5 separate regions of the Homo sapiens genome follow, and regions 1, 3, 4 and 5 are each linked to region 2. The links are contacts of gene promoters, found by promoter capture Hi-C in human tissues and cell types (Jung and others, 2019). All regions are on one chromosome and are shown on one strand. The core of a region is centred on a gene start or on the middle of the fragment in contact, and the rest is flanking DNA. Distances in the headings are between cores, read along the strand shown. Region 1 overlaps SPTB (spectrin beta, erythrocytic). Region 2 holds the start of RAB15 (RAB15, member RAS oncogene family). Region 3 overlaps SPTB (spectrin beta, erythrocytic). Region 4 has its middle 27 kb from the start of MAX. Region 5 overlaps SPTB (spectrin beta, erythrocytic).

Region 1 (3,329 bases), core at 33-2,532, 200 kb after region 2:
ACTCCCTCTTGGGTCAGGGCTGCAGTGGGAGCCTGAATCATGTAAGGAAGCTGGCTGTGTGGGGTCGCAGCGGCCAGGGGAATGGCCACAGACCCTTCTTGGACAGAGAGACCCTCCCTCTGCATGCTCTCTGGGTCAGCAAGGAGAGCCCAGGAACTTAGATCCCAGATAAAAGTGACATGTCCCAGAGTGCCCGGTTAGTATTGCAGCTCCTTGAGGAAGGAAGGTCATGGCAGACAGCACTCCCTTCCCCCAGCTTGGCAGCAGCTGACATCTGCTCACAGGACCATGTGAGCCCAGCAGCAGTGCAGAGGCCTAGATTATATTCAGAGAAGTTTCTTCAAAGCTGCCTTAGGCCCTTTGCTTCTGGTTGACATGATCTAGTCGCAGAGGCTCCAGCAGCCACACGCAGGGACCTGGGCTAGAAGATGATAGAAATCTAGCCTCAGTTAATGCCACAACCTTCAGCTAAAGGTGGAAGGCTGGTAGGACATGGTATCCTTGGGACCTCAGTTTCCTTAATTGTAAAATGAGCCAACTCTAGTCTTTCCAACACTAGGATTTTTGATTCTATGCAGCCTCTGTAAGTGTTATTGTTCAAAGGTTTTTAACTCCCCTGGCTGGCAGTTGCTATTTCGGGAAAAGGGCAAGACAAATACGGATGGGGTTCCCCTAACCAAGAAGGGAAAGGCAGCCTCTTGGGACAGCGTGACTGCCCTAATGAAGACTATTTTAGGCTCACCTGGCTAAACCATAAATCCAATTTTATCATTTCCTCACCTAAAACCCTCTGTTGCAATGGTTGTCAAACTCCAATATGCAACTCCTTTAACAAGCCTTCTGGGTGAGTTTACACGACTTAACCAGGTGCCACCCCCAGATCCCTACTGCATCAAGCTCTGGGGGTAGAGCCTAATAATTTGCATTTCCAACAAGATCCTAGGTGATGCCGATGCTGCTGGTTCAGGACTGCACTTTGGGGACCACTGTTCCCAGGGCTATTCATTGCAATTAGAACAAATTCCACAAGGTAGTACATGAAGGGCTCTCACCCCTGGCTGTACACTCACATCACCTAGGGAACTTTTAGACAGATGAATGCCCAGGTCTCACCTCAGATCAATTAGGATCTCTGGGGGTAGGCCCCTAGCTGCATCTGTTTCCCTGGATTATTCAGTGGGCAATCAGGATTAAGAACCACTCTTGCCTGACCTGACCCCTGCCTGCTTCTGAAACTCAGCTCTTCTCACTTTGCCCTCCTTCACAGTATTCCAGCTCTTCTGGCCCTCTCTGTGGCCTCAGACGGTCCCAGCTCATGTCCACCCCAGAGCCTTTGCACTTGTTCAGTCCTCTTGCCAGGAACACTCAACCCCAGATCTCTGTGTGGTTGCCTCCCTCCCGTCATTCATGTCATGGTCAAGTTTCGTATCCTCAGAGAGGCCCTCCCTGACTCCCTTAGCTAAAGTGGCTCCTGCCACATCGCAGCAGACATTCTCCATCCCACTGTTGTCTTTTCCTCGTAGCCCCCAGGGAGGAAGGCCCAGCCTTTGTTTATTCATTTATTTGCATGTTTACCTTCTATTTCCTCTACCAGGTTGTAAGCTTTAAAGTGCAGGGATTTTCATTTCTCTTGTTTCTATATTGTCCCTATTACCTAGACCAGGGTCTGGTACATAGAAAAGAACTTAATACATAGTTGTTGAATGAATGAAGACAGGGAAGAAGACTTTAAATGTAAGTACCCTGCACAGATACTAGAAAGTAATTGGTTAAAAAGGAAGAAATACCCTTTTAGGCCGGGCGCAGTGGTTCACACCCGTAATCCCAGCACTTTGGGAGGCCGAAGCGGGTGGATCGCCTGAGCCCAGGAGTTTGAGACCAGCCTGGGCAACATGGCAAAAGCCCATCTCTACAAAAAATACAAAAAATTAGCCAGATGTGGTGGTACATACCTGTAGTCCAAGCTACTTGGGAGGCTGAGGTGGGAGAATCATCTGAGCCTGGGAAGTTGAGGCTCAGTGAGCTGATTGTGCCACTGCACTCCAGCCTGGGTGACTAGAGTGAGACCCTATCTTAAAAAAAAGAAATTAATTTTTAGGGCACCATGCAGAGGTCATAAGATCTCAGAGTAAACAAGCAAATGGAGCTGAAAACATGGGTTGTTTGAATGCAACTGCAGAGACTATAGGAAATTGTAAAAATTGAGGTTCTGAGCATAAAGTGTAAAAATGCATTTCAGCAGGTTATGTGACTTGTAGATGTGGTTATTTTGTGCATATTTTAAATGCTGGCCATCACTGTGCTGCTCATGTGGGCTGCTCTTGCCCCTGCCTTCCAATTTTAAAGGCCACAGGAAAATTATATAGAGAGGGAAGAAACAGGTAGTGAGGTATATGGAGCTCAGGAGCCCACACACCAGCAGCAGCTAGCCCAGTCTTTAGGACCCAGAAAACAAGTAACACGTGTCAGGGCCTCCTGAAGAAAAAGGTGACCAGCCACCAGGGTGGGAGGAAGAGGCTGTGTTCATGACCAAAGGCTCAAACAGGGACTAATGCAAAGCTCACAAAAATATGAGAAATAGAAGTAGGGAAAAACAAAAGCTGAGACTGTAAGCAAGGGGCTGCTGTCACCTGTTCTTTTAGATGGAAGGCAAAAACTGTGCCCACCTGAGCTGCTGGGTTGGGCGTATCCTGCGTAAATGATCCTGCATAAATCCTGCAAAAGCTGTTAGAATAAGGTATCAAAAAGGCCATTTTTCTTTTCCTTCCAACACATACACCTAAGGAATCAAGCTCTGCTGAAGCACAGGAAGATAGGGGACAGTCAAGAGCACAGGCTGCCAGGTCAGGTGGAGCTGTGTTCAACTCCGGCTCTGCCACTGAGTGACTTCACTGCTGCATGCTGGTCTCCACATGCTTATCTCAGCAGGCCACCTGAGGGTGCAAGAATGGTGCACATGAGGTGCTTAGCAGCCCGCAAGAGGTCATTGGTAGTTCTTATCGCCATCACCTGCTCTGCTCTAGCAACGGGGGTGAGAGGGACCAAGGGTGTCAGAGCTGTGCTGCCACTGCTGAAGCAGCCTCCCCCGCATGGTGGGAAGGCCCTGCCCCGAGCCCTTCCTTCTGGCCGCAGACACTGCAGAATGAGATTCTGGGCCATACGCCGCGGGTTGAGGATGTGCTGCAGAGAGGGCAGCAGCTGGTGGAGGCGGCGGAGATCGACTGCCAGGACCTTGAGGAGCGCCTGGGGCACCTGCAGAGCTCCTGGGACAGGCTGCGGGAGGCAGCGGCCGGGAGGCTGCAGCGACTGAGGGACGCCAACGAGGCACA
Region 2 (3,178 bases), core at 539-3,038:
AATGTGCTCAAGATTGCACAGCTGGTGAGTGGTGACACTGGGACTGGAACCCAAGTGTGCCTTACTCCAGAGCCCTTGGCATGCACCTGAAACCCCATGTAAGCCCACTGTGGAGACGCGCACCTCGAAATAATGGAATCCACTACATCAGTTCCTTTAGCTTTCTGTGTAATCAGAGTAGCTAGCAGGCTCGGGATTTCGCCCCCCGGCTTTTTTTTTTTTTTTTTTTTGAGACAGAGTTTTGCTCTTGTTGCCCAGGCTGGAGTGCAATGGCGCAATCTCGGCTCACCGCAACCTTCGCCTCTCAGGTTCAAGCAATTCTCCTGCCTCAGCCTCCCGAGTAGCTGGGATTACAGGCACCGGCCACCACGCCCAGCTAATTTTTTTATATTTTTAGTAGAGATGGGGTTTCACCATGTTGGCCAGGCTGGTCTTGAACTTTTCCCCTCTTATTATAATTCAGACACTTAACCTGAAATATACCTTTTCAAATGAAGTAAATGGGCTTACCACTTTCCTTGACCTACTATTGAAAAATACATTCTCCATCCAATATTCAGCCTGAAAACAGGTATGTACATATATACTTTTCATTGCTTTTTTTTTTTTTTTTTTGAGACAAGGTCTCCCTCTGTTGCGCAGGCTGGAGTGCAGTGTCATGATCTCGGCTCACTGCAGCCTTCCCCTAATGGGTTCAAGCAATCCTCCCACCTCAGCCTCTCAAGCCTGGGATTACAGGCGAGCCACCGTGCCCAGCTAATTTTTTTTTATTTTTAGTAGAGACTGGGTTTCACTACATTGGCCAGGCTGGTCTCCAGCTCCTGACCTCAAAGTGATCTGCCCGCCTCAGCCTCCCAAAGTACTGGGATTACAGGCATGAGCCAACGCGCCTAGCCTTTCATTGCTTTTTAAAGACCTAATAGGCTAGACTTTGCTCTCCCTCAATACTCGTTGGTAGGGATAGGCAATTTTCTCAACTCCGGAGAGCATTCATTTGCCTCTCTCCGGTGCTAACACATTCAGTGGTAGGAAACTGGATCTTGAACAAGGGCCATTCATTCTTTGGTGCCACTGGCTATACCACAGAGAAATTTAGGGGTCTGAAACAATACATTGGTCACCTGGGCACCTATCCTAAGCACCTTAGAGGGAAAACGGAGACTTGCCCGCACACCTCTAAAGGATTTTGCACTTGGAGATGTTCTTATGGCCATCTATCTTTTCACCCTGGTGGAGGCCGTGAATAGGCATTTTCCCCATTTAAAGAAAAAATGGGGACGGGGGAGGGCCGTGACACAGTCACACAGGTAAGGGGCAGCCAGATGGCAGGGAGGGGGAATTCCACCCACACTCTCGGGGACTCATGGAGACGGGTGTTCGAATCCAGATCCTGCTCAAGGCCTTCCTACCTCGGGTGAGCCCAGCTGAGGTACCAGCCACTGGGGAGCCCGGCCAGATCCTGCAGATGCAGGGTGCCACGGCGGGCGGAATTACCGGCGCCAGACTTGGGGTGGGATATGGGGAGAAGTGGTGAGCCCGGAAAGCGGAGCACGGTAGAAGTGGGCTGGGTGGGGGCTCACCTCAACTCCCCCATTCGGAGCGTCCGCGGAAAAACGAAAACGTTCCCCCGCCCCGGGCAGGAAGGGGTTGGGAGGGGGGGCTGGCGCCCCGCCCCAGCGTCGCCTGCTCGATGGGGTCCCGCTCTCCTGCGCGCGCTCCCCGCCCCCTCTCTCCGGGGCGGCGGCGGCGGCGCAGGGGAAGGGGCGGGCAGGGGCCGCCGCCGGTTTCTCCTCCCACCGCCTCGCGCCAGCCCAGCCGAGCCGAGCCGAGCCGAGCGGGCGCCGCGCCGGGCTCCCGCCGCAGCCGCGCTTCCCGGCACCCAGCGAGCGAGTGGGCAGGCGGGCGGGCGAGGCAGCCGCGGGGGCCGGGCCCGGCGTCCTCCTCGCCGCCCGCAGCGTCCCCGGGCGGGCGCGGGCCGCGATGGCAGCGGCGGAGCAGGGCTGAGCCCGCTGCCCGCCCGCAGTTCCCGGCCCCGCTGGCCCCAGTCATGGCGAAGCAGTACGATGTGCTGTTCCGGCTGCTGCTGATCGGGGACTCCGGGGTGGGCAAGACCTGCCTGCTGTGCCGCTTCACCGACAACGAGTTCCACTCCTCGCACATCTCCACCATCGGTAAGGGGCGGTGGCCCGGGGCGCCCCTCCCTCCCCGCCCGCGGCCCCTTTCCCCGCCGCCCCCGTCCCCAGCTGGGGAGGAATTGCCAGCCCCTCCGGCTGGAGGCGGTGGCGCCGGAGGCCGGAGTCCGGGATAAATCTCGGGGTGAGCATAGGTTTTGGCAGGTGAGGGTGTCCCTGCTGCCTGCCGTCCGGACCAGGGGTGGGGTCTCCCGCCTCTTGCCGGGAAGCCTTCCGTCCCATCAAACCGAGAAACCGGGGGTGAGGGGAGCTGGTGTAGGCCTGGGTACCCCGAGCTGGGGTAGCAAGAATCGTAGCCGCTGGAATAACATCCCCACACCCCCAGGGGGAGGGGAAGTAAAGCTTCTGCTACGGAAAAGGGGGTCAGGGTGGAGACCGGAGTCACTGAGGCGCCCTTGGTTCTGTGGTGACCCAAGGTGGAGCCGGCGGGGGGCGAGGGGGGGAAGAGAGGACGTACGGAGGGGCCACAGGGATCGAGTTTCCAGGGCAGAGTTGGGAAGGTAAGCCGCAAGGTGGGACACCTGGGGGAGGACACAGATAGGGTGAGGAGCCCCTGCGCCTGGGAAGAGGAGACATCTGTTCTGAGGGAGGCTAAAGAGGATGGAGGAGTGTCAGGAATACCTGCCCAGACCAAGGGGTCAGAAGGCAGGCAGGACCCGCCTGAGGGCATCTCTCATCTGGCAGTGCTGGAGCCTGTGGTTAGAGGGACAAGACCCGGTGGCATCCCAGACAGCACTATGATGGGGTCACTTATTCTAGGAATGGGTCCATGGCCTCCCCTCTGAGACAGTCAGTCTCCCGCTTCTAGGCTGTGAGGGGCCCCCTCCCTGAGAAGTCTGAGTAGAGGGAATTTCATCCTCAGCTGCTACCCGGGTCAGCCCTGGAGTAGCCTCTGCATTGCCCAGGCCCCTGGAAACACCTGCTGGCTGGCTGGTCATCCATTTGGAATGCTCTCCTAGAAGTCCCTGCTGCCATCAGGGATGGGC
Region 3 (3,430 bases), core at 679-3,178, 220 kb after region 2:
TGGAGTGCAGTGGTGTGATCTCGGCTCACTGCAACCTCCACCTCCCGGGTTCAAGCGATTCTCCTGCCTCAGCCTCCCAAGTAGCTGGGACTACAGGCACGTGCCACCACGCCCAGCTAATTTTTTGTATTTTTAGTAGAGACGGGGTTTCACTGTGTTAGCCAGGATGGTCTCAATCTCCTGATCTCGTGATCCACCTGCCTCGGCCTCCCAAAGTGTTGGGATTACAGGCGTGAGCTACCATGCCCGGCCTGGGAGTTTATTGAAGTAGACTCCAAGAGAGGAGCCAGCAGGTCCGCCTGGGAAGCAGCAGTATTCACAGCAAGAGTGAGGTAGCAGCAGAGACAATACACTCTGAAAGATGAGGCAGAGCAGGCTGCTCGAAAGATGAGCCAGCAACTAGAGAGTTCTGCCTTGCGGTTTTTATTAGGTCACACTCTATTTAGGTTCCTGCCTCTGTCTCAAGTCTCCACCTTTGTCTAATTTCCTGCCTCTATCTTATGTCTCCATCTTTTCGCCCCACCTAGTTCCCGCCCCAGGTTTGTGGGACTCTCCCTTACTGTCAGCTGATGAACCTGCAGGGGCGGGTGTCGGATATGAATCCTATCGAATGGTGATGTTGCTAATTACTGCCACTCCAGGAAGGGTGTATATTGGTATTTATTGCACGTGCATATCTCGTAGGAATTTCTCCTTTGCTTTCTTTCCCTCCTTAGCATGCAGCTGGCTACATTCCCACAGGTTAACTGCAGAGTGATGACTGGGCATCTTAAGGGGTGTCTTGGGGTGTTCCTTCCTGCATAGATATTTCCCCTCCTCTCTGCTCATATCTAGGGTGAATGTTTTGGATGGTCTCTGGGGTGTGAGACTTTCCAGACCTCCCTTTCTCAGAGGCTTTCCCACCTGCTCATATTTATCTGCCTACTCCGACAGTATAACCTTGGGCAAGTCACTTGACCTCTCTGAGCACTGGTTTTCTCATTATAGATCGAAAGCATTAGACTAAGTCAGTGGTTTCCAAACTTTCCCAGCCACATAACCCTTTCTTTAAATGAAATCTTACTGGATCCCTACCATGTAACCTGTTTACTGAACAGTCCTAATTTGATGAGATACAAACATGACCAGTTTTATCTTTCTTGCAACCACTGCCTTCCAACGTCTCCATTGAGCCCCCCTTCCCATTCCTAAGGCCACCTCAGGCAGACCCTGGTCACTTTCAGTGGATAAAAAGTCTGCCCAGTTGTTTCAGTTTAAAGCTTCGATCTGATGTCCAACATGGGGCCCACATCCTCCCATCCTCCATCCTCTGTTTCGGGTTTGCCCCATAGTCTAAAGGATTCAGACCAGGGAGGAGAACATGGTCTGCTCTCTCCTGGCTCCTTCCCTCTCCTCCCCAGCACTCTTCTGGACCTCTGTCTTCAGCTGTTGGGGCAGGGAGGAGGGAGCAGAAAAAGAACCTTTTCTGACCTCCTGGCTGAAGATGTCCTTGGTGCTTCAGGCATCCAGCTGCTTGGGGGCCTTCCTACCTCTTGCTGAAAGGTGTTTAGCAGTCAGGTCTTTGGGACCGGGTCCTGGCCAGATGGCTCCAGTGAGGCTGCCTTCCTTGGTGCTCACTTGGCACGGAGGAGACCCACCCATTCTTGCCCCACCTGGCAATGGGAGGCCGCCCGCTGCTGCCCCAATCTGTCCTGCCCTCTCTTTCTTCTGCCCCAACAGGCAAAAGGGCAGATCAGCAAGGTCTAGCATAAGGAGATGCCCAGCCAGGGAATGGCAGGTCAGCTTCCCCTTCTCGTGGGCACCTGTATGTCATACAGTGAGTGGCACCATTGGAGGCCCCTCCCTTGACTTGGGCAGGGGCCAGGCATCCCCAGGTCTCCACAGGGAGGTGCAGGGAGGTAAAGACCACAGCAGTTCCCCAAGGCTGTGCCTCCTTACGAGGGGGATTCTCAACTCCTGCTGAACATTAGATCCCATGAAATGCTCAGTAAGAGATACCAATGTGCCGACCCCCGGGGCCAGTTAACTCAGCATCTTGAGATGGAGCCTGAGAATGTTTCTTTTGAAAGCACCTGAGGTGATTGCGGAAGGCAGCCAGGGTTAGGAACCACTGCCCTGTCCAAAAAGTTCCCATCAAATGATGGAGAAAGGACCTGTTAGACCTGCTGATGGCCAGGGAGGGTCTGGGTTCTCCCTTTGTAAGGTGGCAGGGGCGGGCAGACTTAGGACCTGGTACCCTTAGTTTTAGGGCTTTAGGCACAATTTGAAAGTACCAGAAGAGTTCCCATTCAACATTCTACTATAAGTGGTTGCCGAACTTGTCTTAGCAGCAGAACTTTCCTCATACGAGTGTCTGGCTGCAGCAAGGGGAGGGGCCAGAGCTTTGCCAGCAGCATTGGAACCTGCCCCCCCTCACACCCCTTTAATGAAATAATCACTCAGGCCCCTTTGGCTCACTCTGAGAACCTTCCGTTGCTATGTTACATTGGAGAGAGGGGGCCACCCTGCAGCTCTCTGAAGGGAGAATGGGGTGGAAATGGAGCCAGAAGCACAGGCAGAGTAGAGAAGCAAGGGGGCACCCATAGCAGGTTGTGGGAGAGCCAGGGTGGGCCAGGAGGTGGGAGTAGAAAGGAAGTAGGCTTGGGGGTGTGGAGAGGGTGGCTGCTGACCTCCCAATTTTGCTGAGAACAGCCATCTCTAAGCCAGAGTACCCAGAAAGGTGTGCTCCTCCCTATGCCCTGAGCAGGGGGAAGAAGAGGGAACGTGGCCTCAGAACCTGCAGCAGCCACCACCGCCGGGTCAGCACAAGGATGGGCAGAAATCCACTGGGGATGAGAGGCCCACCACGGAGCCCCTCTTTAAGGTCCTAGATACGCCTCTGAGCGAGGGTGATGAGCCCGCAACGCTGCCGGCCCCGCGGGACCATGGGCAGAGTGTGCAGATGGAAGGCTACCTGGGCCGCAAGCATGACCTGGAGGGGCCCAACAAGAAGGCTTCCAACAGGTGAGTGCGGGAGAGGCTGCTGGCTGAGGGTAGGTTGGGCAGCTCTCAGGGATCTCTCTGCTAGCAGAGCCTTGGTGACATGGGCATGTGCTGGGGGAGGGGTGCCTTCTGCCTTGGCCTGTGAGAGCTCCTAGACACCCCTCTGGGCCAGCCCCGAGGGCTACTTGGCATGATGGGAAAGCCTATCTCCAGTTCTGGTCCTGAATTCAAATCCTGTGTCTTCATGCAAGTTACTCAACCTCTTTAAATCGGTTTCCCCATTTGGAAGGAGAGGATGAGAACAGTATGTCTTTTCACTACAGATACTGTTCCTGGCACACAGTAGGCACTTGGTGAACACTAGCTGTTATTATCCTATTATCCCAGGGCTAGGGATAGGTAGCTCTAAAGGTTAGGTAGGTCTTGGCACTAACAACATCCTTGTTCG
Region 4 (3,116 bases), core at 487-2,986, 160 kb before region 2:
GACCTCATGTGAGTGAATCATCACAGAATGATTCTGAAGTGGGTGGAGCCAAAGACCTGAGTGGCAAGGGCTTAAAGCAGGGGTCTCCAATCCCCAAGCCGTGGACTGGTGAGGGTCTGTGGCCTGTTAGGAACCGGGCCATAGAGCAGCAGGCGAGCATTACTGCCTGAGCTCTGCCTCCTGTCAGATCAGCTGCGGCATTAGATTCTCATAGGAGCGCGAACCCTATTGTGACCTGCCTGATGATATGAGGTGGAACAGTTACATCCTAAAACCATCCCCTACCCCACACCCATACGGTTTGGTTCTGTGTCCCCTCCCAAATATCACCTCCAATTGTAATCCCCACATGTCGAGGGAGGGACCTAGTGGGAGGTGATTGGATAATGGGGGTGGTTTCCCCCATGCTCTTCTCTTGACAGTGAGTGAGTGAATTCTGATGAAATCTGATTTTTGTTTGTTTGTTTTTGAGATGGAATCTCACTCTGTTGCCCAGGCTGGAGTGCAGTGGTGTGATCTCGGCTCACCACAACCTCTGCCTCCCAGGTGAAAGCGATTCCCCTGCCTCAGCCTCCCGAGTAGCTGGGACTACAGGCGCGTGCCACCACACCCGAATAATTTTTGTATTTTTAATAGAGAAGGGGTTTCACCATGTTGGCCAGGCTGGTCTCAAACTCCTGACCTTGTGATCTGCCCTCCTCGGCCTCCCAAAGTGCTGGGATTACAGGTGTGAGCCACCATGCCTGGCAGAAATCTGATGGTTTTAAAGTGTGGGGCACTTCCCCTCTTGCTGTCTCGCTCCCTCCTGCTGCCCTCTAAGACATGCTTTGCCTACCCTTTACCATTGGCCATTATTGTAAGTTTCTCAAGGCCTTCCAATCGTGCTTCATGTTAAGTGTATGAAACTCTGAGTCAATTACACATCTTTTCTTCATAAATTACCCAGTTTCAGGTAGTTCTTTATAGCAGTGTGAAAATGGACTAATACACCCCTGCACCCTCACCCCTACCCCCACTGTCCATGGAAAAATTGTCTTCCAAAAAACTGGTCCCCAGTGCCAAAAAGGTTGGGGACCACTGGCTTAAAGATATCCATCTGTATGGACACATACAGCTCACAGCTCAGCTGTGGACTAGGTATACTCTTATACTAACTGTACTAGATGAGAAAGACAGGCTTCTAGAAGTTCCAGAAGGTTGAGTTTTAGTGGAGCTGGAGTTTGGCCTTACGTGGAATGAGATGTGTCTGTTGGACCAGGTTCCCTGGACTAGGAAGCAATATTACACCCAGAGGCCACATCGCTGAGAGGCAGGCACAGGAGCCGGGAGCATAAGAAGCCCAGATGCCTGCAAAGCTGGGCTTTGAAGAGTTGACATGAATGCATTTCTTTTTTTTGAGACAGAGTCTCACTCTGTTGCCCAGGCTGGAGTGCAGTGGCGCAATCTCGCCTCACCACAACCTCCGCCTCCCGGGTTCAAGCAATTCTCCTGCCTCAACCTCCCGAGTAGCTGGGACTACAGGCACGTGCCACCACGCTGGGCTAATTTTTGTATTTTTAGTAGAGACGGGGTTTCACTCTGTTGGCCAGGCTGGTCTCAAACTCCTGACCTCGTGATCCACCTGCCTCAGCCTTCCAAAGTGCTGGGATTACAGGCATGAGCCACCGCGCCGGGCAAAATGAATGCATTTCAAGAGCAGGGAATCTGAGAGCCATGTACTGATCTCAGATATTTTCACAGAATTTCTTAGGATAAGAAACCTAATTGTGTTTATGTTGCTACATTCGGAGGTGTTATTTTCTTTAGATATTTCCTTCATTTTTTATAAAATGTCTTTTGTTTATATCAACTTTTTTGGCTCTATTAAGGGAGTTTAGCCTATGCCTTTTTTTATATTTTGAGACACAATTTTGCTCGTCACCCAGGTTGGAGTGCAATGGTGTGATCTGGGCTCACCACAACCTCTGCCTCCCAGGTTCAAGCAATTCTCCTGTCTCAGCCTCCCAAGTATTTGAGATTACAGGAGTCCACCACCATGCCTGGCTGATTTTTGTATTTTTATTAGGCCCGGCCGGCCTATGCTTTCTTTGGAGTGAACAGGGCCACATTTTATCCCTAGGTCCCTGAGCAGTAGAGAAAGGAGGAGTGAAAAATGAGAGAAGCTAAAGGACAGGCCGGGCGCAGTGGCTCACACCTGTAAATCCCAGCACCCTGGGAGGCCGAGGCGGGTGGATCACCTGAGATTAGGAGTTTAAGACCAGCCAGGCCAACATAGTGAAACCTCATCTCTACAAAAATACAAAAATTAGCCGGGCATGATGGCGGGTGCCTGTAATCCAAGCTACCTGGGAGGCCAAGGAGGGAGAATCTCTTGAACCCATGAGGCAGAGGTTGCAGTGAGCTGAGATGCGCAACTGCACTCCAGCCTGGATGACAGAGTGAGACTCTGTCTCAAAAAAAAAAAAAAAAGAAAAAGAAGAAGTTAAGGGACAGACAAAAACCCAGGGAGAAACAGCCTGTCCTGCCAGCAGAGCATCTTGCTGTAGCCTCCCACATAGCTCAAAACTCAGAACCAAGAGCCCACTCCCCCATTCTGTGAAGACAGCCTTCTTCCTGCCTCCCGGGACCCTCCCTTCTTCAAAAGTCATCTCACAGCCAAGACCTCTCCAGTTGTGCCCCCTTTGCTCTCAGTCTCCCCACATCCTCCAGTATCCATCTTTCTTCTCATTTCCTCAAATGCGAAGTCTTCCTTATAGCTGCAGCTTGCCTTGATTTTTGTATTTCCTCCATGTTGTTTTTACAAGTATTCTATAATATATATAAATAATTTTTACCTTGTCTGATTAGAGTTGAAGTTCTTTGAAGGTGAATAGCTTCTATCTCCTTTGTAAGTCTCTGCCATTTCATTTATGTTAAGCAGTTTTTCAAAAGTAAAATCTCTTTATTGTTTTTTTAAAATGTATCACTGTAAAAATAACAACAACAACAAAACTCCAAACAGTACAGAAAAGAAAATTCAAAAATCCCATCCCAAAGAGATAACATCCCTTAACAGTTTGGAATACATCTTCACCACACCTTGGTCTGCTGCATGTACAAAGATTGACAAAAATGGG
Region 5 (3,442 bases), core at 1-2,500, 180 kb after region 2:
CTAGAGCAACTGGCCCGGCGCTTTGACCGGAAGGCCGCAATGAGAGAGACCTGGCTCAGTGAAAACCAGCGCCTCGTGGCCCAGGTAATGAGGGACATGCTTTGGGTGACAGGAGAGGGGACATTCTTCAGAGCCCCCAGCTCTTGGCTGGGCTGGAGTCCAAGCTGGCTTCTCACAGCCTCTCCTCGTGCCTTGCAGCACAGCTCCCCCGTGATCCAGTGGATCAAGATTTGCATCTGGGGAGGAGCTCTCCAGGATTTATTAAATCTCATTTTTAGGAAAGAGCCTTGGAGTCTAGAACTGGCCGCTGAAGTTGTCTTATGTGGGCCTGTAGTGTCAACTACAGCTGGGGTTTCAGTTGATGTTAAATTGTGGTTCTTGGGGGATATGGTAAAATCACAGACTGCACCTTGTCTGTGTCAGGCATGCCTTTTGGACTCTGGTCTCTGGTGCTGTGACATAATTCTAGCTAAGAATTGACCCCAGGGCTGATTCTTCATCAGAGCATCTGTTCCCTCTCACTTAAAGCTTGGAATCAAATTAGATTCTGTCCAGAAAGGGGGCAACAAGTATTCTGAGAGCACTGGAGAGTGTATGCGCACCCCAGATAGCATGTGAATAAACCATCTGTTTGCTGGTGCATGGGTTTCCGAGTGAGAAGCAGCCCCTTCCTGCCCCAAATCCAACAGGTCCACTCGAGGCATGTGGGGAGTGCCAGCAGGCTGCCAAGGGGCTCCATTAGTAACACGCAGGCTGCATCTCCCACGCGGGTGGCACGGGGAGTAAAATCATGAACTTCTCTTAGAGTCTCTTGTGAGACATTAATTTTTGGAACTTGGGTCTGATAAGACAGGCTGCAAAAGTAAGGCAGAACTAGCTGCTTCTTGGGAATGTGCTTTCCCATCTAGCACTGGTTCTGAAGGGAGCTGCCCTGTCCCTGAGTTTGGGGATGAGCCCCTGGGTGTCTGACTGAGCTGCCTGTTTTTCTCCCGGTGGGGCAGGATAACTTTGGGTATGACCTGGCAGCTGTGGAGGCCGCCAAGAAGAAGCATGAGGCCATCGAGACCGACACGGCTGCCTACGAGGAGCGGGTGAGAGCCCTGGAGGACCTGGCTCAGGAGCTGGAGAAAGAGAACTACCATGACCAGAAGCGCATCACGGCCCGCAAGGACAATATACTGCGCCTATGGAGCTACCTGCAGGAGCTGCTGCAGTCCCGGCGCCAGAGGCTCGAGACCACCCTGGCACTGCAGAAGCTCTTCCAGGACATGCTGCACAGCATCGACTGGATGGATGAGATCAAGGTGGGCCCTGGGGGCCGCCCCCGCCATGCCCTGCAGTGCTCACCTTGGGTCTCAGTGGCCCTGCAGTTAGCATAGGCTTCCTTAGACACCTCCCAGCCAGTCATATCTCTGAGTCAAAATAGAGAAACTGAGGCAGCAAAGTGTCTAGCTGCACCTGCCTCTCTGCCTCTTGGTCCACTCTGCTCCAGCAGGTGATACCAGCCCAGGTCCATGGTACCCTGGTGACCGAGAAATCTTGGGTTTGTGGCAGCACCGGTGCCAACCTTCAGGGCCTTGAAGAGACAGACATTAATCAGGAACCTGGAGAATCAAGCTCTTAGTAATTACAATTTGACTCTGGTTAGAATCCAGACCTCCCAGCATGAGGGCAACCTCTCCTCTCTCTCTGCCGCAGTGGGTCTCAGCTGAGGACACACATCAGACTGCCCCTGGAGCTTTGTGAAAATACACATGGCCAGGCCCCAACCCTGAGACCGATGCAGTAGATGAGTGTGGGGCTTGAGCATCTGTAAGATGTTCTATGGATGATGCTGATGGGCACCCCCAGTAGGCACTCTCCCTCTGGAGCTTCTTCCATCCTCAGCAGCAGCCCTTTTCTGGCTGCATTTGGCTCACCCTTGCTCAGATTACTAGAGACATGCCCTTTGCAGGGGTCTCTTCTCCTAATGTGTAGGTCTCTTCACTTCTCCTCATTTCCTTTCTGCTGTTCTCTTTGCCAGGCTCACCTCTTGTCTGCCGAGTTTGGGAAGCACTTGTTGGAGGTTGAAGACCTGCTACAGAAGCACAAGTTGATGGAAGCTGACATCGCCATCCAAGGGGACAAAGTGAAGGCCATCACCGCAGCCACCCTGAAGTTCACCGAGGGGAAAGGTGAGACCAAGTCTGTCTCCCCTTTTGAGGCTTCCAATGCCAGAGCCTCACCTCTGGCCTAACAACCCAACTTGGATAAATCTCCTGGAACCAACTTTAAAGTTCTGTTACTTTCATCAAGTAATGGTCCAAGAAAGAAGCTTGAGGGACCAGCCAAATTCTCTAGAGAGCAGGCAACTGCTTCGGTAACCTATAATCACCAAGGAGGCACCCTCTGTCCTTCATTCTCCTTGCTAGTTCAAGTTATGGCTGAGACAATTTAGGTTTCCAGATTCTTGTTTTAAATAAGAGACCTCACTGCATCTTTCAAGAATGACCTTGAAATTTTTTTAATTAATTTAAAAATAATTTTATGTTGTACATTTCTATTAAGAACTAACCCCACTTTTTATCTTCCTTAACCCTGAAGTTCAGTGGGAAATAATTATAAAGAATCTGTCCACCCTCTGAGCAACTGGGACCCCCCTGCATCCAACCCCAAAGCCCCAGTGACATGGCAGCTTCAGGGTTGTGTAGTTCCAACCTAGCAGCTTATCTGAAGCGTGCCCATAAATGAAGCCCATCCCCCACTTTGTCCTCCTTCCCCCTATTTCTTCCAGGGTACCAGCCTTGTGACCCCCAGGTCATCCAGGACCGCATCAGCCACTTGGAGCAGTGCTTTGAGGAGCTGAGCAACATGGCAGCTGGGCGGAAGGCCCAACTGGAGCAGTCCAAACGACTCTGGAAGTTCTTCTGGGAGATGGATGAGGCTGAGAGCTGGATCAAGGAGAAGGAGCAGATCTATTCTTCCCTGGACTATGGCAAAGACCTGACCAGTGTGCTCATCTTACAGCGCAAGCACAAGGCCTTTGAGGATGAGCTCCGTGGGCTGGATGCTCACCTGGAGCAGATCTTCCAGGAGGCTCATGGCATGGTTGCGCGCAAGCAGTTTGGGCACCCGCAGATCGAGGCCCGCATAAAGGAGGTGTCGGCACAGTGGGACCAGCTGAAGGACCTGGCTGCCTTCTGCAAGAAGAACCTCCAGGATGCTGAGAACTTTTTCCAGTTCCAGGGCGATGCGGATGACCTGAAGGCTTGGCTGCAAGACGCCCACCGGCTGCTCTCTGGTGAAGATGTGGGGCAGGACGAAGGGGCCACGCGGGCCCTGGGGAAAAAGCACAAGGACTTCCTGGAGGAGCTGGAGGAGAGCCGTGGGGTGATGGAGCACCTGGAGCAGCAGGCCCAGGGATTCCCCGAAGAGTTTCGGGATTCCCCAGATGTGACCCATC

What was found. The method cuts DNA at HindIII sites, captures the fragments that hold promoters and counts their contacts. A contact is called where the count stands out against the background at its distance.
Region 1: a contact is called between a fragment that was not itself captured here and the fragment with the promoter of RAB15 in region 2, in 1 of the 25 tissues and cell types used here (spleen).
Region 3: a fragment that was not itself captured here is called in contact with the fragment with the promoter of RAB15 in region 2 in 1 of the 25 tissues and cell types used here (spleen).
Region 4: a contact is called between a fragment that was not itself captured here and the fragment with the promoter of RAB15 in region 2, in 1 of the 25 tissues and cell types used here (spleen).
Region 5: a fragment that was not itself captured here is called in contact with the fragment with the promoter of RAB15 in region 2 in 2 of the 25 tissues and cell types used here (spleen and thymus).

What each region holds. Positions count from the first base shown.
Region 1 is chr14:64,775,207-64,778,535 of GRCh38, reverse strand. It overlaps SPTB (spectrin beta, erythrocytic), which reads left to right. Exons shown (of 36, transcript NM_001355436.2): 23 at 3,133-3,329. Among named protein-coding and RNA genes, the nearest start is that of MIR7855, 8.8 kb to the left of the region's middle. RefSeq lists enhancers at 2,708-3,207, 3,208-3,329. The HindIII fragment of the contact is 3,892 bases long and covers 1-3,228 here.
Region 2 is chr14:64,970,946-64,974,123 of GRCh38, reverse strand. It overlaps RAB15 (RAB15, member RAS oncogene family), which reads left to right and starts at 1,788. Exons shown (of 7, transcript NM_001308154.2): 1 at 1,788-2,171. The coding sequence starts at 2,048. All of the region lies in intron 3 of CHURC1-FNTB (CHURC1-FNTB readthrough), which reads right to left. RefSeq lists a silencer at 1,626-1,995. The HindIII fragment of the contact is 7,421 bases long and covers 1-3,178 here.
Region 3 is chr14:64,753,110-64,756,539 of GRCh38, reverse strand. SPTB (spectrin beta, erythrocytic) reads left to right here. Exons shown (of 36, transcript NM_001355436.2): 33 at 2,747-3,003. Among named protein-coding and RNA genes, the nearest start is that of MIR7855, 31 kb to the left of the region's middle. The HindIII fragment of the contact is 3,233 bases long and covers 312-3,430 here.
Region 4 is chr14:65,128,376-65,131,491 of GRCh38, reverse strand. No RefSeq gene overlaps it. Among named protein-coding and RNA genes, the nearest start is that of MAX, 27 kb to the right of the region's middle. The HindIII fragment of the contact is 4,433 bases long and covers 1-3,116 here.
Region 5 is chr14:64,793,199-64,796,640 of GRCh38, reverse strand. It overlaps SPTB (spectrin beta, erythrocytic), which reads left to right. Exons shown (of 36, transcript NM_001355436.2): 11 at 1-84; 12 at 1,002-1,304; 13 at 2,024-2,174; 14 at 2,774-3,442. Among named protein-coding and RNA genes, the nearest start is that of MIR7855, 9.2 kb to the right of the region's middle. The HindIII fragment of the contact is 5,542 bases long and covers 1-3,442 here.